Linked DNA regions of Homo sapiens: region 1 is linked to region 2. Evidence: promoter capture Hi-C in 16 types of primary human blood cells and fetal thymus (Javierre and others, 2016). All regions are on one chromosome and are shown on one strand. The core of a region is centred on a gene start or on the middle of the fragment in contact, and the rest is flanking DNA. Distances in the headings are between cores, read along the strand shown. Region 1 overlaps PDCD11 (programmed cell death 11). Region 2 holds the start of KCNIP2-AS1 (KCNIP2 antisense RNA 1).

What was found. Contacts are between HindIII fragments. The CHiCAGO score rates a contact against its expected background, and 5 or more counts as called.
Region 1: a fragment that was not itself captured here is called in contact with the fragment with the promoter of KCNIP2-AS1 in region 2 in 1 of 17 cell types (monocytes); the score reaches 5.1 in monocytes.

What each region holds. Positions count from the first base shown.
Region 1 is chr10:103,396,904-103,400,123 of GRCh38, reverse strand. PDCD11 (programmed cell death 11) reads right to left here. Exons shown (of 36, transcript NM_014976.2): 2 at 1,596-1,708. The coding sequence starts at 1,697. Among named protein-coding and RNA genes, the nearest start is that of PDCD11, 1.9 kb to the right of the region's middle. RefSeq lists enhancers at 2,012-2,512, 2,513-3,014. The HindIII fragment of the contact is 484 bases long and covers 1,680-2,163 here.
Region 2 is chr10:101,817,652-101,821,097 of GRCh38, reverse strand. KCNIP2-AS1 (KCNIP2 antisense RNA 1) reads right to left here and starts at 2,030. Exons shown (of 3, transcript NR_045118.1): 1 at 1,850-2,030. OGA (O-GlcNAcase) reads left to right here and starts at 2,654. Exons shown (of 16, transcript NM_012215.5): 1 at 2,654-3,274. The coding sequence starts at 3,076. RefSeq lists enhancers at 2,625-2,744, 2,546-3,121 and silencers at 2,895-2,954, 3,035-3,094. The HindIII fragment of the contact is 3,022 bases long and covers 1-2,575 here.

The sequences.
Region 1 (3,220 bases), core at 672-3,171, 1.6 Mb before region 2:
ACACTGGGTTCCCCAGTTTGAGAAGCAATGTAGAATAGTGCATGAAAATGGACACCAGAGTTACACAGACCCAAGTTAAATTCTCATCTTTTCCACCATAACAAGCTATGTGGTTTCAGCTAAATTATATAAAATCCAGGCACAGTGGCTCACACCAGTAATCCCAACACTTTGGGAGGCCAAGGCGGGAAGATCACTTGAGATTAGGAGTTCAAGACCAGCCTGGCCAACAGGCTGTATTTTTTTTTCCACTAAAAATACAAAAAAATTAAGCCGAGCATGGCAGCACGCACCTATAGTCCCAGGTACTCGGGAGGCTGATACAGGAGAATTGCTTGAACCAAGAAGTGGAGGTTGCAGTGAGCTGAGATCACAACACTGCACTTCAGCCTGGGCGACAGAGCAAGACACTGTTCCTCATCATGGAATTGCAATCAGTGCTTCACAGTACAGTTGAAAAGATTACATAATACAGACCTAAAGCCACACACTCAAATGTTAGTTCCCTTTCCCCAAGCATTTGGAGCACAGCCTAGTCTAGGTGAGACTGTGAAGTCTAATGCAAATTCTGACCATTACATGTGGCAAGGAACCCCTGTAAAAATGCAATGATCAGTCAGACACAGTGGAACATGCCTGTTGTTCCAGTTACTCAGGAGGCTAAGGAGGGAGGATCGACTGAGCCCAGGAGTTTAAGTCCAGCCTGAGTAACAGAGTGAAACATCATCTCTCCCCATCTCTTGAAAAAACAACAACAAAAATAACAAAAACATCAGCTGGGTGCAGTGGCTCACACCTGCCATCCCAGCACTTTGGGAGGTCAAGGTGAGCAGATCATCTGAGGTCAGGAGTTTCAGACCAGCCTGGCCAACATGGTGAAACCCCATCTCTAACAAAAATACAAAAATTAGTCAGGTATGGTAGCAGGCACCTGTAATCCCAGCTACTCACGCCACTGCACTTCAGCATGGGCAACAGAGTAAGACTTCGTCTCAAAAAAAAAAAAAAAAAAAAAACTGCTTCCTCTCCATCCTTAATCAACATGGCACATGGCAAAGAGTGTCTAAGAACAAGGAACAGCACTTTATTTATTTTGTTTGTGTGTTTTTTGAGACAGAGTCTCACTCTGTCGCCCAGGCAGGAGAGCAGTGGCACAATATTGGGTCAGTGCAACCTCCACCTTCTTGGTTCAAGCAATTCTCATGCCTCAGCCTCCCAAGTAGCTAGGACTACAGGTATACTACCATGCCCAGCTAGTTTTGGTATTAGTATAGACGGGGTTTCACCATGTTGGCCAGGCTGCTCTTGAATTCCTAGCCTCAAGTGATCCGCCTGCCTCGGCTTCCCAAACTGCTGGGATTACAGGCATGAGCCACTACGCCCAGCTAATAACAGTACTTTAATACTAAATGCCAAGCTTCAAAAGATACAGCCTTGTGGTGGTATGGCCTCTCTAAATGAGTTAAATTTATAGAAGTAGACTTCAATGCAAAAAAAATCTGGAAAAATAACACATTCTCAAATAAGGCTCATTTTTCACAAGACACTACAGTAAAAGTTTCCAGTGAGTGTCACCAAACAAGCATACTACTTACATCAAATAAGTTGTCTTGTTCAACTGACTGCTGGAAAGCTTTCTCTGGTTTGTGGATCTTTCTTGTACCTCCTCGGGGGAAGCTTTCTTCCAGGTTTGCCATGTTTGGGTCTCCTAAAAACAATGCAAAGGATAATGGTGACATGTTGTCTTGGTAGCAGATTTCAGAAAGGTGTTATCAACGGGCAAGAGACAGAACGTTCCAGCAATATGCTAGACAACATTCAGGACTACAACATAGATGGTTTAGATGTCAGGCCCGGAATAATCCATACTTCATCTTTCCAAAGGTCTCTGCTTCAAAACCACAAGTCCACCCACCTTCTTCCAGAAAAAGAAGTTATAGATTCAATGTAGCACATACTCACTAAGAAGCTACAGTTAAGTCAGAGATACACTGTAGCTCTACAGATGAATATATAATCCTCTGCCTTCAAAGAACATGCACACTTTTTGGAAGATAAAACAATTATGCAAGTAACTTAAAATGCAAATCAGATTATAAATGATCACAAAGATGTAGGAAGGGATAAGGCAATGTAGGAAGGGATAAGTAAAGGAGGCAAGCTTCATAAAGAAGATCTTTTTTAGCTTAAGGGTAAAAGATGAACAGAAGCTTGACAGGTAGAAAGGGAATGTGAGAAAAGACATGGATGGGAAAAGCCTATTATTTCAATAAACACCAGCAATTTCCCTATCAAACAACTGCTCAAAGGCTTGCTGTTGTCTCTGAGGAATTATTCAACTAGACCACTGGGAGATTAAAGCATAAAAATTGAAGTTAAATTTTAAAGAAGGCCGGGCACCATGGCTCACACCTGTAATGCCAGCACTTCGGGAGCCCGAGGCGCGTGGATCATCTGAGGTCAGGAGTTCGAGACCAGCATAGTCAACATGGCGAAACCCCGTCTCTACCAAAAACGCAAAAATTAGCCGGGCGTGGTGGCCTGCGCCTAGTCCCAGCTACTAGGCAGGCTGAAGCGTGAGAATTGCTTGAGGCCGGGAGGCGGAGGTTGCAGTGAGCTGAGATCATGCCGCCGCACTCCAACCTGGGAGACAAAGTGAGACTCTGTCTCAAAAAAATTAAAGGAGAAGTTGGGCTTTTTTGTGGAAGACCTTGAATTAGATATGGGTAGTTTGCTTTGGCAAGTCAGAGACTTAAGCAGGGAAAGCGAGAGAACAGTAAGCAAGAAAAATATACTGCAGGCTATAGATTGGACATGAAGAGAGACAGTATTGAAGGCAAGTAAATTCGGTAGAAGGATTCAAATGCACTGTTTCCTGTTATCTCAGTGACAGAAAAAAAAAAAAAAAAAAAGGATTCAAATGCAGTACAGCAGAGAAACCATGAGAACCAGAACTGGGTATAAGTGAAAACAGAAGACAGGAGAGGTTAGTTCTGACAGACACTTGGTAATAAGACTCTACAAGGGCTTTAGACTAAAGAAGTGATGACCGGGTGGGGCCAAGGATATGGAATCAGGGATGGGTATATGATTCATAGAAACAGGAAAGTTTGGGGGGTCTAGTTTGCTGATAATTTCACCCTTAATTTCCTTTCAAGCAAGGGGAAACTGAGGCTCTGAAAAGTAAGGCGATCCAGGGGCACAGAAGATACTTAGGCTA
Region 2 (3,446 bases), core at 781-3,280:
CAGGCGCGCACCACCATGCCCAGCTATTGTTTGTAGTTTTAGTAGAGACGGAGTTTCAACATGATGGCCAGGCTATTCTTGAACTCCTGACTTTCTGCCCGCCTTGGCCTCTCAAAGTGCTGGGATTACAGGCGTGAGCCACTGAGCCCGGCTGATTCTGTCATTTTAATGCCTCGCTGGGCCTATTTATTTATTTTTAATTTTTAAAGATTTATTTATTTTTTAATTTTTTTTTTTTTAGAGGCAGGGTCTTGTTCTGTGGCTCAGGCTGGAGTGCAGTGGTGAGATCCTAGCACTACAGGTGCACACCACTACGCCTGGCTTTTTTTTTTTTTTTTTTTTTTTGTTTTTTTTTTGAGATGGAGTTTAGCTTTTGTTGCCCAGGTTGGAGTGCAATGGCACGATCTCGGCTCACGCAACCCGGGTTCAAGTGATTCTCCTGCCTCAGCCTCCCGAGTAGCTGGGATTACAGGCATCTGCCACCATGCCCAGCTAATTTTGTATTTTTAGTAGAAACGGGGTTTCTCCATGTTGGTCAGGCTGGTCTCGAACTCCCGACCTCAGGTGATCCATCTGCCTCGGCCTCCCAAAGTGCTGGGATTACAGGTGTGAGCCACCACGCCCGGCCTATTTTTATTTTTTTATAAAGACTGGGTCTGGCAATATTGCCCAGGCTGGTTGCAAACACCAACACTGCGCCCAGCCATCTGGGCCTGATAATTTAAAAGGACTCTCATTCCTCAGATAAAAGTTCTTTTCGGCCAGGTGAGGTGGCACGTGTCTGTAATCCCAGCACTTTGGGAGGCTGAGACTGGAGGATCACCTGAGCCCAAGAGTTTGAGACCAGCTTGGGCAAGATGTTGAGACCCCCGTCTCTACCAAAAATGAACAAATTAAAAGAGTGTGGTGGCGGGCACTCGCCTATAGTCCCAGCTACTCGGGATGGCTAAGGCGGGAAGATCCCTTGAGAGCCCAGGAATTCGATACTTAAGCTATGATTGCACTAGCCTGCGTGGCAAAATGAGACCTCTTCTCTTACAAAAAAAAAAAAAAAAAAAAAATTGTGTTCTCAACCCCAACGGACCACAATATCCAGTAAAGCTGCTATGGCCCCTAACTCTCAGCACAGGAGGTCCCTTAAGAAAATGCTTGTCCGGCCGGGCGCGGTGGCTCACACCTGTAATCCCAGCACTTTGGGAGGCCGAGGCAGGTGGATCACCTGAGGTCAGGAGTTCAAGACTAGCCTAGTCAACGTGGCGAAACCCCGTCTCTATTAAAAACACAAAATTAGCCGGGTGTGGTGGCGGGTGCCTGTAGTCTCAGCTACTCGAGAGGTTGAGGCAGGAGAATAGCCTGAGCCCAGGAGGTGAAGGCTGCAGTGAGCCGAGATTGCGCCACTGCGCTCCTGCGCTCCAGCCTGGGCGACAGAGTGAAACTCTGTCTCAAAAAAAAAAAAAAAGTTTGCTCCTAACCCCCATCTCAACAATCCAGGACTGAAAAGAAGAGGGACCATGAAAGTCCCTGAAACTACAAGTTGGGCTACGGCTAAAGAAGGTAAATATCAGACTGAAGTGTAAGATGGACATTACTAAGTCTTAATCATCATTTCATGTTTATACCTCACAGGTTGAGATAGATTTCTCAAGCATCATAAATGTAAAGTGCATTAGGGTAGGTCTACAAGAGAGCTCTGAGAACATACAGCAAGGAGACCCAAACCCATCTAGGGCTCAGGGAAGGCTTCCCAAGGAAGCGATGCCCATGCCGAGGCCGAAGGGATCTCATGCCCCACTGCACACACCGCGCGCTCCCCATTCCCAAACAAGGCAGGCTTTTCATGCCTCCCTACCTTTGGACTCTGTTGTTCGTTCCACTTTCCTGGAGTGCTGTCTTCCCTCCCCTTCTGCTCAGTCAGGCTAACTTCACATCCTTTATAATCCAGCTGAAAAGTGAAGCCATGCCCACGGCCTCTCCCCAAAGGAGGAGTGAGTATCACCTGTTCTGAGCTCCGAAGTTCTTGGGGACACCTTGTGGGAACTGCGTGTGTGGTGGCTTGTCTCCACCACCGTACTGTGAGCTCATAGTGTTCTAGAGCCCAGCACGAGGCAAGCTCTATAGATGTCTACTGAATGAAGGAATGAACGAATGATTACATTTTAAATGGGATTAGGGGAAAATGATTCAAGGCAGAGGGGTGAGCTGAGCTCCTTGGAATGGTGTCTTTACCGAACCAAGCCTGGGTTAGGCAGATGTAATGAGCCCACCTATTACAAGAATCTCCATAGAAAGTAGGTCAGTTCTTTCCTATCTCTTTAAGAACGAGAGGCCGCGGCTCCGCGCCTGCGCACTGAGAGAATAAACACCTCTCCTTTTCACCTTCCCCCCTTCTCCCTATTGCCCCAACCGGCGGCAGCCTCCTCCCATACTCCCCTCCTTCGGGGCGGGTAATGGTCCGTCCGTCCCAGGGTGCCAGGCTTGTTTCGGAGGGTGGCAAGCAGAAATGGTACATTCCACTGCCTTCATTACCTTCTGCTTTTCGCGTCTCCTGTTCTATTTCCCCCTACCTAAAGAAGCTTAATAGGCTAGCCCCAAAGAAGGCGGGGGAGCCGGGCGGAGGGGACCGGTCTGAGCCGGTCTGCAGCGCAAGCGCAGTGCGGATAAACAGGAAGCGGGCGGTGGAGGCAGCAGCAGAGGGAGAGCTCGGGGCTTGGAGGGGAAACAGCGGAAGACCTAAGATTATCGGGAGGGCAGCAGAGGCAGAGAACGAGGACAGGACCCTTGGCCGTCTTCTTCCAGGGAACGAGAGGTCACAGCCTCGCTCTCCGCTTAGGCTTCTGGCGCCCCAGCTTAAAGCCGAGGCTGCGGCTGACAAAGGGCTCGCGCCGGTGCCGCCGCCCTTCTCATCCGGGCATTCGGGTCCCTGCGGAGAGGGAGGGGGAAGGGCAGAGGGGGAGGGGAAGGAGCCGGAGGGGCGCACACTTGGAGCTGAAGCCCTCTCCAGGGCTCCGGGCCGGTGCCCCAACGGACAGAGGTCGAGGAGGACCCGCAGAGGTGGCAGCGGCCGGGGGCAGGAGGATGGTGCAGAAGGAGAGTCAAGCGACGTTGGAGGAGCGGGAGAGCGAGCTCAGCTCCAACCCTGCCGCCTCTGCGGGGGCATCGCTGGAGCCGCCGGCAGCTCCGGCACCCGGAGAAGACAACCCCGCCGGGGCTGGGGGAGCGGCGGTGGCCGGGGCTGCAGGAGGGGCTCGGCGGTTCCTCTGCGGTGTGGTGGAAGGTGAGCGCCCTCCTTCCCTCCCCGTTTTGGCACTAACACGTTCTGTCCTCGGGAGGAGGGTGGTGGCGGGGATTTTGGAGACTCTAAAAGGCCGGAAAGCCTCTGGGTCTGAAATGTGGCCCTCCTAAAGCGAGGGGAGAGACGAGATGTTGGGCGAATCTCCTTGCACGTC